Regions from separate parts of the Homo sapiens genome. Here region 2 is linked to region 1. Evidence: promoter capture Hi-C in 16 types of primary human blood cells and fetal thymus (Javierre and others, 2016). All regions are on one chromosome and are shown on one strand. The core of a region is centred on a gene start or on the middle of the fragment in contact, and the rest is flanking DNA. Distances in the headings are between cores, read along the strand shown. Region 1 holds the start of ADSS2 (adenylosuccinate synthase 2). Region 2 overlaps SDCCAG8 (SHH signaling and ciliogenesis regulator SDCCAG8).

What was found. The method cuts DNA at HindIII sites, captures the fragments that hold promoters and counts their contacts. A CHiCAGO score of 5 or more calls a contact.
Region 2: a contact is called between a fragment that was not itself captured here and the fragment with the promoter of ADSS2 in region 1, in 2 of 17 cell types (neutrophils and monocytes). The highest score is 6.1, in neutrophils.

Annotation. Positions count from the first base shown.
Region 1 is chr1:244,450,341-244,454,012 of GRCh38, reverse strand. It overlaps ADSS2 (adenylosuccinate synthase 2), which reads left to right and starts at 2,104. Exons shown (of 13, transcript NM_001126.5): 1 at 2,104-2,378. The coding sequence starts at 2,196. It also overlaps a transcript of CATSPERE not described here. RefSeq lists silencers at 1,715-2,204, 2,645-2,924. The HindIII fragment of the contact is 6,677 bases long and covers 1-3,672 here.
Region 2 is chr1:243,345,891-243,349,674 of GRCh38, reverse strand. The region is part of intron 12 of SDCCAG8 (SHH signaling and ciliogenesis regulator SDCCAG8); the gene reads right to left. MIR4677 (microRNA 4677) reads right to left here and starts at 3,499; the gene lies at 3,420-3,499. The HindIII fragment of the contact is 6,251 bases long and covers 1-3,784 here.

The sequences.
Region 1 (3,672 bases), core at 855-3,354:
GGGAGTATCCCTTCCAAACTATCCTCCTATTCTCCTTCTGAGAAACCTCCTTGAAATCTTCCTGATTCAGGAGAAGTCTCCCAAACCTGGACTCTTCCTACTAGTTAGAAAGAGCCAAATGAGACCCCCCCAGGAGCCGAACAGACACCCTGCAATGGGGCTACAGACACCTCACCATAGGGCTACAGAACCAGTTGGGAGAAAGGAGGCGTTGGCAGCACCTAGGATACTCACCAATCCAGACACCCTGCCCTGCAATGGGGCTACAGACAGACACCCTGTGATAGGGTTACAGTTAAGGGACGTCTCCCCGGGGCTATTTCTCCATTGCAATTAAATCCATGCACACTGGGTTGGCAGCACCCCACCAGTAGAGAGAGTACCAGAGTCAGCCCCCAGTCCAAGAGAACTGGGTGGCCGCTTGGGCAGGCTTCTGGATCCATTGCTGGAGGGGGGCCACTGAACCACGAGTAGGTAGCCACAAAGGCAATGCCAGACAAGCCCCCAAATTTGTAACCGCCCAAGGGGTTCACCTTGTCCACTGCCTAGACAGAGCCAATTCATCAAGACAGGCAAATGGCAATAGAGAAAGAGTAATTCATGTAGAGCTGGCTGTGCAGGAAACCAGAGTTTTATTATTACTCAAATCAGTCTCCCATAAATGATTTTAAAAAATTGAATGGAAATGACTAGTAAGGTGTGCTTATTCAGTATCTACTATCTGCCCAACACTACCTCGGGCATTTGACTAGAAAGAAATAGATGGCATTCTTGTTTCCAAAATGTTTGTGATCTTGTAATAAGGCCAAGATAGACAACAATTATCACATAGTATTATAATTGTTTACTAATCAATAGACCAAATAATTTGAATCCTTGAGGGCTGAATTGTATCTTTATTTCTCCTATGTTATCAGTGCCCAGGACACTTAGTTAGTTAATAGCAGGTTCTCAATGTTCCTGACTTAACTCATTGACTAGAAATAAAATACTAAAGTGTACTCTAGGGACCATTAGTGAACATACAGTATGTACAGGCGATTTGGGAGACGGTACATATAATGTGATTCCATTCCCACTTTTTTTCGAAGCACCTTTTATCAGAATTAAACATCATAGTTAATTTGTGTTGGTGTCGAAAGGGCATTAGATGAACAGTAGGTATACACCAGAATCTAGTTACAAATGTAACTGAGAGACAGTGGAATCTACAGGAAGGACATGGGCTCTGGACTTAGATTATCGAAGTACCAATTCAAGCCTCACTAGGGCAAGTTACCCAGCTTTTAAATCCTGTAAAATAAGGATAATAGAGGATCACCTACCTTATATGGTTGTGGGGATTAAAAAATAAAGAAGTGCATGACGGTATCTGCATATATGTACTATATGCGACATAGGTAATCCACTCCTCCTCTCTGAGCCTTTGTTACTACTATGTAAAATGAGGATTAGGACTTTATTTGATCTATTGATTTCAGGTCTCATGTCCTTTATCTTATTGCCTTACTTTTGAATTTTGTCTTTTTTGATCCCTGTCCCCATCTCTGTTACTTCCGGACTTTTAATTTCCAATTCTACACTTACACGTTCCGATTTTATGCTGTTTGTACTGCGAAATTCCACAGTTTGTATTTTGTACACATTCATTCCTTAATAAAGACAAATCCAGACAAACCTGCAGATGGCAGACACAGTGGCCCCAGAATACACCGCCGCAGCCCAGAGCGTTGCATGCTGGGATTTGTAGTCCGACGCTCCACACGCGCTTCCGCGCCTCTCCAGTTTGAAAGCGAGAGGTAGAGCGGGTAGGCGGGGTGCTGAAGGAGAAGCGCTCTCGAAGCCCCGCCCCTGACCTTTTCCGCTCGCGAGGTTTGCACGGGAGTGGCGCGCCAGGCCGCGGAAGGGGCGTGGCCTCGGTCCGGGGTGGCGGCCGTTGCCGCCACCAGGGCCTCTTCCTGCGGGCGGTGCTGCCGAGGCCGGCCTGCGCGGGGCAGTCATGGTACCCCCTTGAGCGGGCTGTGGCGGAGAGCGGGGCGGGGACTGGCTGGAGGGTGGCGGCCCGGCGGGGCGGGGGCGGGGCCGGCCTCTGGCTCCTTCTTCCTCTGCATGTGGCTGGCGGCCGCAGAGCAGTTCAGTTCGCTCACTCCTCGCCGGCCGCCTCTCCTTCGGGCTCTCCTCGCGTCACTGGAGCCATGGCGTTCGCCGAGACCTACCCGGCGGCATCCTCCCTGCCCAACGGCGATTGCGGCCGCCCCAGGGCGCGGCCCGGAGGAAACCGGGTGACGGTGGTGCTCGGTGCGCAGTGGGGCGACGAAGGCAAAGGGAAGGTGGTGGACCTGCTGGCGCAGGACGCCGACATCGTGTGCCGCTGCCAGGTGAGGCGACGGGGCCTCTCATGGGAAGCCGGGCCCGGGAGCTCGGGCTGCCTGGCTCCTGGTGCCCGGGAACTCGGACCCAGAACCCGGATCCACTGGCCAAAATGAGGTGTCACCTTGAGGCTCTCTCCTCCTGTCCTGAGCTGCGGCTACGTGGAGAAATGGCGGGAGGTCGGGGACCCCTGACCTGGAGCGTCGGGTGAAACTTGGGGTGGCCCTGGAGGAAGAGGTGGGCTGGCGGGGAGCCTTTGAGAGATGCGCGATGCCTGGCAGTTGCAGTTTTGCGTCTGGCGAGTGGTGCTCAGCGCCGGGACTGAGGCCGGGGTGGAGGTGGGATGCGGTCCGAGTTTGAGGAGCTACCGCCCGAGGCCTGCTCCCAACTCTTCCGACTGCGGGCGGAGACCCGGCGCGACGGCAGAACCCCCCATCACCGCCCCCCCGCCCCGCCCAGGGCGGCGGAGTGGGAGTGGATTGTTTCGAAACGTCCTGAAATCAGACTCACCGATCCCCCATCTGCAGGACCGTGGCATGCAGTGCTTTGCTTCCTCTGGTCCACTTTGTTGACATCCAAACCCACCCACCTCTGGGCTTTGGACTGTTGTTTTAGGGCCCTGAGTTTCTTGTTTTTGTTTTTGTTTTTACAGTGTGCTCCATACATGAAAGTTAAGGAGAAATTACTTTTACTAGTTGGTCCCAGAGGAAGGAATCCCTTCTCTGTTCAAAAAAAGTGAGGGAAGTAAATACATGGATGTCAAATTGAGTATTTGGAAATAAATATTTGCATTGTTAAGGTGACATCGAAAGTGAACTTTCGGAAAACGAGGTGGTAATGTACTTCTAACGGGAGACACGTGGTTTTCAGTGTAACCTTTCTTCCTATTTGTCGTTTCCTTTGACGCAGCATACAGGGTAAGGCCTTTGTAAAGGCTCTCAGATAACTCTCTCCAGTTTCAAAATTCTAAGCAGATGAGCAATAACCACTTTCAAAACAAAGCATAATGTAATATTTGAAGTTAACTGCTATCTGTTTAGGTTGCAAGAATATTTGTTTTTGAACATGCATGGCATGATATGATGGTGCCATGCTGTATATGTTCTAGTAAGTTATAGGCCCCCTTGAATACCATTTTGAGCATGCAGAAACAATGAAATCACAGGTATGTTAAAAAGCTAAATGCAAATACTGCAAATATTCTCTGATTTACCTTGTTTCGTTTTGTTTTGTTTTCATTTAGAAATCCACCCTGCCCATTCTGAAATAGCTGTTGCACTAATTGCCTCTTAGGAAACTGTC
Region 2 (3,784 bases), core at 4-2,503, 1.1 Mb after region 1:
TGATACACTCGCTGAGTAATGCCATTAGATTTTTAAGAGACTAAAGATGTGGCACATTTGTTATACTGCAAAATACTCTAAAACCATTGTTATTATTTAAGATACATGGGTCTTCAAACTCAAAGCTCAGCATCCTAGTAAGTCAGAGGAAACTTAAAAAATACAGTTGTATTTCTATACTCAAGGTAGGGATTGGCAACTTTTTCTGTAAAGGGTCAGACAGTAAATATTTTAGGCTTTGTGGGCTATATGGTCTCTACCACAACTCCTCAACTCTGCTGTTGTTGCAGGAAGTAGCAATAGGTGATACATATATGAGTAGGTATGGCTGAGTTCTAATAAAACTTTATTTGTAACATAGACAGCAGGCCAGACTTGACCTATGAGCTGTAGTTGGCTAACACTTTTTTATGAATACTGGGCACATTAGCATATTGAATATGCATATGTGTCTGTATATGTGAGTGGGGATATATACACATATATTAGTATGCAAAATCTCCATTTGCCCATCCCCCTGGTTATGGCAGTTTCTTGGGCACGTGATCAGTGCAGTCACACATGTGCTGTTCAGAAGGGTCCTTACACTTGCAGTTTAATACTCTGTGGTCAATGTCTTGAAATTATTAGCAATTGTATCTTAGAATTGTGTTTTTTTTTTTTTGTTTTGTTTGTTTTGTTTTTATCCAAGACAGGGTTTCGCTCTTGTTGCCCAGGCTGGAGTGCAGTGGCGTGATCTCGGCTCACCACAACGTCCGCCTCCTGGGTTCAAGCAATTCTCCTGCCTCACCCTCCTGAGTAGCTGGGATTACAGGCATGTGCCATCATGTCCGGCTAATTTTTTTTTTTTTTTTTTGTATTTTTAGTAGAGACGGGGTTTCTCCATATTGGTCAGGCTGGTCTCAAACTCCCGACCTCAGGTGATCCGCCACCTCGGCCTCCCAAAGCGCTGGGATTACAGGCGTGAGCCACCACGCCCGGCTAGAATTGTGTTTTGTAGGTGTACTCTGATGGAACAATGGAGACTGAACTCCTGTATGTGGTCTCATCTTTCCACTGCCTCACTGCAGCCCTACGCAGTTCTCAGAAATATACTCCTCTCCAGCTTCCTCTATCCCGCCCTGCCCTGCTGCTGGGGTGGGTCCCTCCACCTAGGGTGGGACCAGGGCACTGGGGGAGGTGCGTATGTCACTGGGGGAGGTGTGTGTTCTCCTGTGTCTTTTGCCCCTGGCAGAATCCTGAATGTGTGTTTAGAGAGGATTGAGTCAAGTGTGCCCATCCCTGCCATCTTAGAGCTGGACAGGGAGGTAAGAATTCCCGCCCCAGGCCGGGCGCGGTGGCTCATGCCTGTAATCCCAGCACTTTGGGAGGCCGAGGCCGGCGGATCAAGAGGTCAGGAGATCGAGACCATCCTGGCTAACACGGCGAAACCCCGTCTCTACTAAAAATACAAAAAAAAAAAAAAAAAAAAATTAGCCGGGCGTGGTCGTGGGCGCCTGTGGTCCCAGCTACTCGGGAGGCTGAGGCGGGAGAATGGCATGAACCCGGGAGGCGGAGCTTGCAGTGAGCCGAGATCGCGCCACTGCACTCCAGCCTGGGCGACAGAGGGAGACTCCGTCCTAAAAAAAAAAAAAAAAGAAAAAAAAAAAAAATGCATGTCCAGCCTGGGTTGGTGAGGGAGGAGGGGCAAGGAGAGAGAGACTGAAGAAGAAAGGAAAATGTTTTATATTTTAGTTCTTTTTAATATCACTTCTTTCCTGCTTTCTGAACAAAAGGGTCCTGTATTTTCACTTTGCACTGGGCCCTAATCAAAGGTTAGCGGCTATAAAGAATCGTCTTCTCAGATTAATTTACCAAAAGGGAAGTTGACAAAAAAACTCTATTTCTGCATCACTCATTTCAGGTCAGCTCATCCTTGTCATGTTAGGGCCTCCTGCAACATGTCCAAATCTTAAATACAAGGCTGTGAAATTAATGCTGAATTTGGGGTTTCGGATGCGAGGAAGCTCCTTTTGGGATATGATTATCAGGAATGCTGCGTGGTAGCCATTTCCTTCACATACTTTGCTGTAGGATTAATTTATACCTCTTTAGAATGACAATGAGGCATTTTATAAAAATAAAGCATAATCAAAACATTATGTACAAAATTTAACAGACAACAACAAAGAAAGATGAAATTTTACTAAGAGTTCTGTTTATTTCCTATTAAAAAGGGTAACACCAGAAAATTGGACATACAAAAACATACTTGTTCTCCTAATTTGAATAAACCAACTGTAAAATCAACATTTTTGAGACAAAGAAATGTGAATATAGGCTGGGTGTTATTTGATATTAAAGAAGTATTGTTAACATTGTTAGGTATGATAATGACATAGTATGTAAAAATATCCTTCATAGATCCACATGGGTATTTATGAGTAAAATAACATAAGGTCTGAGATCCATTTAAAATACTTCTGCAAAAGAAGAAAAAGAGGTAGAGGAAGAAGACAGAAGAAGATGAAGATGAGAAGGTGGAGCAGAAAAAACATGACAAAGAAGATGAAGGTGACGATGAGGACAGAAGTAGAGAGAAAAAAGTGAGATAGATGGAATAGGATTGAGGAGGAGGACTGGCAAAATGATGAGTGATGGAATAGGATTGAGGAAGGGGACTGGCAAAATGATGAGTGATGGAATAGGACTGAGGAAGAGGACGGGCAAAATGATGAGTGTAGGTGATGGAAATGTGAGGACTCATTACAATATTCCCTATACCCTCATACATGTTTTTAAATTCCCCTGATCGAGTGTGTGTGTGTGTATAACCATTGCCTAAAAAAATTTCTCATAAAAATCAAAGAGCATATTTCACATTCTCCTCCATACCAAATGCCTCTTTTTCTGGTGCAAGAAGCATCCTCTGAGGCTGACAGGAATTCTCTAAGCTGAAGAGATACAAAGGAGTTGATGGGAAGGATAATCCGCCCATCGGTTCCTGACACAATATAAAGAAGAAAAGAAGAAAGTGGGTGGAAGCGACTGCCATTGTTACTCTCCTAACCTTTCCTTCTAATTATGCCAGAGCCAAGGCTCAGGTCACAAGGAAAATTATTTTGGTGGTTAACCATTTGCCCTATTTTGTATACATCAAAAAAGCTGTTGTTCTCACACATTCCAATCTCACAGTTTCCCACCCACTTTAAAAATGTATCAAGTGGTCAGATGAACTAAAATATGAATAAAATGACTATATTATGAAGAACACCTTGTTTGCAAACCTACAGATAGCCTGCTTGTGATGCTGAATTGTAAGATACACAACACTTAAACATTTAATCTACTTTATATTATTGTAGGTATTTCAGATAAATGCTCAACATGCCCCGCTTTTAAAAGTTAAATGTAAATTTCTCTCTTGAGTGCAGATGGTGGCCAAGCAAAGTAGTTCTTTGGTCTCACAGACAGAAGGTCAGGTCATGGCTGAAAGACCAAAGAACAATTGCTGCTTTGCTACTCCAAATCATCCATGGAATGAGACACCACGACTTCTTTTCTGAAACTGTCTGTTCAATACAAAACAGTTAAAAAGAGTACCTATAAGATTTCCTCACATTCCGTCTGGGAAAAAAAAATGGTAACAAGCACATCACTTCACAACACATCACAAACATCTTGTAACTGTTCAGAGGTTTTATTCCTAAAGCTGTGACCTCCTAAAAAGGCACATCTCTATCTAAAAACATACCACTAAACGTCATTATGAAAACTACTATTGTTTCACTATTATCAGAAAACG